Regions from separate parts of the Homo sapiens genome. Here region 1 is linked to region 2. Evidence: promoter capture Hi-C in human tissues and cell types (Jung and others, 2019). All regions are on one chromosome and are shown on one strand. The core of a region is centred on a gene start or on the middle of the fragment in contact, and the rest is flanking DNA. Distances in the headings are between cores, read along the strand shown. Region 1 has its middle 50 kb from the start of PPP2R2C. Region 2 holds the start of MAN2B2 (mannosidase alpha class 2B member 2).

The links. Contacts are between HindIII fragments. The study calls those that stand out against the background at their distance.
Region 1: a contact is called between a fragment that was not itself captured here and the fragment with the promoter of MAN2B2 in region 2, in 2 of the 25 tissues and cell types used here (bladder and dorsolateral prefrontal cortex).

Annotation. Positions count from the first base shown.
Region 1 is chr4:6,521,231-6,524,458 of GRCh38, forward strand. It overlaps a transcript of PPP2R2C not described here. Among named protein-coding and RNA genes, the nearest start is that of PPP2R2C, 50 kb to the left of the region's middle. The HindIII fragment of the contact is 6,467 bases long and covers 1-3,228 here.
Region 2 is chr4:6,573,620-6,576,687 of GRCh38, forward strand. It overlaps MAN2B2 (mannosidase alpha class 2B member 2), which reads left to right and starts at 1,570. Exons shown (of 19, transcript NM_015274.3): 1 at 1,570-1,729; 2 at 2,959-3,068. The coding sequence starts at 1,592. It overlaps LOC105374365 (a long non-coding RNA gene), which reads left to right. Exons shown (of 3, transcript XR_925098.3): 3 at 572-719. RefSeq lists enhancers at 1-534, 535-1,302, 1,303-2,071 and a silencer at 1,360-1,819. The HindIII fragment of the contact is 15,458 bases long and covers 259-3,068 here.

The sequences.
Region 1 (3,228 bases), core at 592-3,091, 52 kb before region 2:
CCTAGGCAAACCTGCTGGTGAGGGCTTTTGGGGCTTTATCCTGCCACTTGTATGTTGTGTTCAGCTGGTCGTAAACCACTGCTCACATGAGCTACCATCAATTAGACACGCACTCTTTACCAACTGCCTCCAGGATCTTCTCATTCACCAGGGCTCCCCTCTCCCATGATCTAGCCAGAAAGCGGGGACTTCAATGTATCATTCAGGTGGGTTAGAAGCTTCTGCCATTCATTGAGCCCCCTCAAGGCCCTAACAAGGGACACCCCACACAGTGGCTTCCTCCCAGTGCTCCAGAGAGGAGCCCACCCATTCAGTGTGGCTTCATCTCCCTGCGTATGCACTTCTTAGGAGTCGTCTCAGGAGCCCTAACCCACGTCCCACCCCTCCAGGGCCCTCCTCTCCTCCCTCGAGGTGATGTGAGTTCATACGTAGGAGGCACTTACACAGGAGCTGGTACCGCTTCCCCTGGACTGGCCACCGGTCCCCTTTCCAGGGGGCCACTCTCCCTTGCCACACACTGCATCTGCAGAACAGCCCATTTGTGAGCATTTACTACCATCCAAGAGCTAGCTATGAGGGAGGAATTATTGCTACCCTCATATTACAAATGAGGAAACTGAGGCACAGCTCACGGAAGAGCCGGGAAGCACACCAGGCCATCTGCCTCCAGAGCCACCCACTAAACCTGCCTCCAGCGGTGACTACTTTGCTCTTATTGGGTTCTGTTCTCCCCAAGAGGCAAGGGGGCCCCTAAGCCAATGGCTTTGGGGGCCATGACAAGTGGGGGCCACTGAGCTCTGGGAACAGAGAAGTGTTGTTTCCAAACCTCACCCGATGGGCCTGTCTCTGTGAAATGCACCGCTCCTGCCTGCACTCTCCCGGCCACTCACAGCTCCCTCCCACCCACTCTCCTGCCTTCTCCCTGCCTTTCCTGGTCCCTTGGCCTGGAGTCTGCCCTACCCCAGGAAGAGGGTATCTGGGACTCCAACAGAGGCAGAAAGTTGCTGCCTTTAACCCTTTTCTGAGACCCCAAAATGTAAGTACCCAGGAAGGCTGATGTCATTCAGTAGTTGTTCAAATGAACATAACCCCAGCCGTGCTGGGAGCACTCCCGGGCATTACCAATCCTCACTGTAGAGGTGGGAAATTGAGGCTGGCGAGGTCCACAATGTGCCCCCCCAGACCCCACAGCTGGGGACACAAGTGAATCCAGACCTGAGATTCCAAGACCCTCATGCTTCCCAAGCACCTGCTTCCAGAGCTCCAAGAATTCCCACCCTGTGTTCCCTCCAGCCCCATGTTCCCCACACGGGGATGGCAGGGCTGGGGCCCCCGGAGTCACCGGGCATGGTGGATTCCCCCACAGGAACCACATTGAGCACTGAGTTCTGCTCAAATGTGGGCCCAGGGGCTGGCTGCGTGAGCACCCAGAAGTGGCCACAGGGCACGGAGGGACCAGCTGCACCAGTTTCTGATACCACAGGATGCTGAGGTCTCAGCAGGGGTCTGCCCTGGGGCCCTTCTCCTTGGCCCCTGGTTCTTGGCTAATATCTGCTGAGCCAGACACAGCTCCCACTTTGGAGGCACTCCGCCCAGGAGGGAGACAGACAAACAGACAGACACACCAATAGGGACCATCCCCTGATACTCCTAATGGCTTTCTAAGCACTGTGGGATCCCATTCCTCTCTCACTATTACACAGATGAGGAAGCTGAGGCAGGGAGAGGGGCAGGCCGCAGATGCACAGCAGCCTGGCAGGGGTGGACCGGGGAGGCTCCGAACTCAAGCCTTGGGTCAAGAAGTCATACGTCCTATGGCAAACCCCAAGCCAGTGTTTCTCCAAGTGCGGTTCCAGGGCCTCCTGATCACATTCCCCAGGAGTGTCCTGTTGAGAACCATGTCCAAGGACTGTGCCCTCAGAGGGGCAAGTGCTGCGGAGGGGCAAGAAATCCAGGATGCATCCCAAGCAGCTGCTCCAGAGGAAATAAAGGCCTTCCCTAGCCCCAACCACCAGCTCCCTTATGTTTGAAAGAAAGAACACAAGACTTCAGAGTCAGGCCCACTGGGTTTCTAAGGCTGTCTTCCCTCCTTCTTGCTGTGTGGCCTGGGGCAAGTTACTCACCCTCTCTGATCCTTGTTTTCCTCATGGATGATAACAACAAAAAGACAAACAACCCAATTTCAAAATGGGCAGTGGCCTTGGACACATACATTTCACCGAATGGTCAGCATGCACAGGAAAGGTTGCTCAACGTGATGAGTCATTAGGGAAATCCAAATCAAAGTCACAATGAGACAACGCACACCCACGAGGATGTCTGGAATCCAAATGCAAAGCGAGTGTTGGCTGTTGGGAGAGACGCGGGACCTGCACACACTGCTGGGGGCAGGTGAAGCGGCAGGGCCACCGCAAAAAAAGCTTGGTACCGCCGCAACAAATTAAACCTGGAATTATCCTGTGACCTACCAATTCCACTCCTGGGTGTCTATCACGGAACACTGAAAACACACATCCACATGAACACTGGAACGCGAATGTTCCCAGCAGCCTTATTCATAATGGCCAAACAATGGAAACACCCTAAGTATCCATCCATCCACAGACGAATGGATAAGCAAAATGTGGTCCACTCATACAGTGGAACATATTCAGCCCGGAGAAGGAATGAAGTTTTGTTTTTGTTTTTGTTTTTGTTTTTTTGAGACAGTTTCGCTCTTGTTGACCAGGCTGGAGTGCAATGGCGTGATCTCGGTTCACTGCAACCTCCGCCTCCCAGGTTGAAGCAATTCTCCTGCCTCAGCCTCCCTAGTAGCTGGGATTACAGGTGCCTGCCACCAGGCCTGGCTAATTTTGTATTTTTTTTTTTTTTAGTAGAGACAGGGTTTCACCATGTTGGTCTGGCTGGTCTCGAACTCCTGACCTCAAGTGATCAGCCTGCCTCAGCCTCCCAAAGTGCCGGAATTACAGGCGTGAGCCACTGTGCCCAGTCAGAAGGAATGAAGTTCTAATGCGAGCTACATCCTGGATGAGCCTTGAAAACACTCGGCCAAATGAAAGAAGCTGAATGTAAGTGAACTGCATGATTCCATTTCCATGCACTGTCCAGAACAGGCAGATTCACCGCAACAGAAAGTGGACTCATGGTTGCCAGGGACTAGAAGGAGGAGGAATGGGAGTGACTGCTTACTGAGTATGACAAGTTAAAATTAAGGTTTAATTGAGCAAA
Region 2 (3,068 bases), core at 320-2,819:
GCAGGGCTCACCCACAGGAGGTTGTTAGGGGCCAGCCTGGAAGAGGAGCACAGTGCCCGCCCCCACCCATCCCATTGACTAGCACTTAGCCACGTGGCCGCACCTGGTTGCAGAGGCTGGAGAGTGGAGCCCAGCTGTGAGCCTGGCCGGTCATGGGGACATGTGTTAGTGAGTACTGTCCACGTCAGGCTCAGACCATCTGACCTGAGGCTATGGGGATGCAGGGGTCCCCAGGGGGTGGACAGGACAGAAGGAGGAGGGAGACCTGCTTGGAGAACCTGTTCTCAGTTTCCATTTGTTACATAATGGACAAGAGGACCAGCACTTTTGCTCAGAGCTGCAGCTCTGGTTCCGCTAGGAAATGCCAGGCAGGGGCACAGCCAAGTGGTTCTCAGACAGTAAACCCCAAGCCACAGACCCTTGCTTTCTTGGGCAGGGAGTAGTGGACAGGGCTGACTCCAGGCAACAGTCCCAAACAGGCTGCACCAATGTGACCGCACCTCCCCTGAGTGCAGGCAAGGGGTGCTGTGCTCACGCTCTCAGCCTGGGTGCATCCTTACTTTGTTCACAGCTCCTCTATCGGACCCATTTCACTGAGGCTCAGCGAGGTTACCTATGTCGCCCCAGGTCACCATCCAGTAACCCAGAAAGCTTCTCTTGGCTCCTCCACTAACTGCGTGATCTTGGACAAGTCAGTTACTGTCTCTGAAAGCCAGTTCTCCTCCTTAAAATGGAGACAGTTGAGCCAGGCATGCTGGTTTATGCCTGTAATCCCAGCACTTTGAGAGGCGGAGGCAGGAGGATCGCTTGAGCTCAGGAGTTTGGGACCAGCCTGGGCAACATAGTGAGGCCCCCATCTCTATAAATTTTTTTTTTAATTAGCTGGGTGTGGCAGTGTGCCCCTGTGGTCCCAGCTACTCAGGAGGCTGAGGTGGGAGGATCACTTGGGCCCGGGAGGTCAAGGCTGCAGTGAGCCCTGATCGCGCCACTGCACTCCGGCCTGGGAGACAGAGTGAGATCCTGTCCAAAAAAAAAAAAAGGAGACAGTCCCATAACAAGCCCCCCATGGCGCCGCCCAGATGGGGTTTCGACGCCAGGGAGAGGAGGGAAAGGGTTATCAGGGAAGGTTCCTGGTGGCAGAGCTCACAGGGTCCGTGCTGAGCCGAATTTTGCACGGTAGCCTCAGAGTCCCGGAGCCGAGTCCAGAGGGCGGGATGCAGGTATTGCGAAGAGGCACACGCTCCGAGAGGAACCACCAGAGCGTGGGCTTTGGGCGAGGAGGGGTCTCCTCTGGTTGGGGGAGATCTGGCAGGCTTGGGGGAGATGGGGCTGAAAGGATGGACAGGGAGGGAAGGCCAGAAAGCTGGAGACGGGGATGGAGAGCTAAACCGCAAAGAGCAGGCGCCCTGCCCCGCTGAGGGCCCCGCGCCTCCAGCTCCTCCTTCCCGAGCTTCCCGGGGTCGGCGTCCAGCCGGCAACCAATGGGCCCCGCCCCCGCCCGCAGCCAATGGGCCGCGTCCCCGCCCGCGCGGCCGCCCCGCCCCTCGCGGACCCGGAAGTGGGCCTGGCACCTTCCCGGCCTGCCGCAGGGATGGGGCAGCTGTGCTGGCTGCCGCTGCTGGCACCGCTCCTGTTGCTGCGACCGCCAGGGGTCCAGTCCGCCGGCCCCATCCGGGCCTTCGTGGTGCCCCACAGCCACATGGACGTGGGCTGGGTCTACACTGTGCAGGTAGGTGCCGACCACGCCCCGCGCGCCCCTGAGGCTGCAGCTTCCCTCTCCCCGCGGGATCTGAGTGTGGGTTTGCGTCCCGGGGCCCGATGCCGGCGCAGAAGGAGGCTCAGTGGGTTCAGGACCCCACGCTGCCATTGACTGGTTGCGTCGCTAACTTCGGGCCAGTCACTTCCTGCCTCTGAACCCCCATTTCCCCTTCTGGAGGGTGGTGCAGATTGGAGGGACCCCTGCATTCCCGGCTGGGGAGGGGCTTGGGGGTTGACAGTGGTAACCCATTTTCCAGGGAAGCCTGGAGCAGGAGAGGGTGGGGCTGGCTTCAGAGCAGGTGGATGTCAGGTGCCCGCTGGGAAGGGGCCGGGCTGGTCCCCTGCGGGGCTGAATATTGGAGGCCAGCTCAGCGTCCTCCGCCCCCCAGGACAGGGGTGAAGGTGGACCTGTGGTCACCTCCTGGTTCTGCTCAGGACCTTGGGCGAGGGGCTTTGGTCCCTAAGCCTCAGTTTCCCCATCTGTAAAGGGTAGGGGAAGCATGCCCACTACAGCCAGTTTCCAGAGGAGAAAACCGAGGCCCAGAGAGGGTTGCTGCCTTGCCCAAGGTCGCTCGGGAATAACCCTCATGCCTCCTGACTCCCTGCTCGGTGCTCCTTCCATTCATGTAAGCACTCTGTGGGCACCCTGTGTGCAGGGCCCTCGGGACTCGGATGGGAACACACTACAGCTGTGGTCCTTGGAGCTCCCAGCCTTGGGGAGGCAGACGCCTAGACGCCAGGGACAGCCTGGGGAGCTCTTCCTCTCAGCACCAGCTTTCCTCATTTCAGCCCCAGCAGGCCCCTTTGGGGTCACTGGACCACACCCCGACTGAGGCCTAAGACTTTCCTGTGCTGCCCCTCAATGGCACACTCAGGGCCCAGCCCCCCAAATTGCACACTCAAGGCCCAGCTTGCTCACCCCTCTGAGAAACTGTCCCTGACCCCTGGGCTGGGAGGGCACCTGTCTCTGCCCATGTAGGGTGTCTGTTTCCCCGTCCCTCTCCCCCAGGAGAGCACGATCCCATCCAGTGGGGAGAGCCTGGTATGGAGCGAGTGCCTAATAGCTGTGTGGGGGGTGAGCAGCAGGGAAGGAAGGGCAGAGCCCCCAACCCCATGCAGACACACCTGGCGAATGGCAGGGGCCCCAGGGACACTTGGTCTTGTTGGACCGGGGCTGGCATGATGCTGTCCCCTCCCCAGGAAAGCATGCGGGCGTACGCCGCCAATGTCTACACCTCAGTGGTGGAAGAGCTGGCCCGCGGCCAGCAGCGCCGGTTCATCGCTGTGGAGCAGGAGTTTTTCCGGCTGTG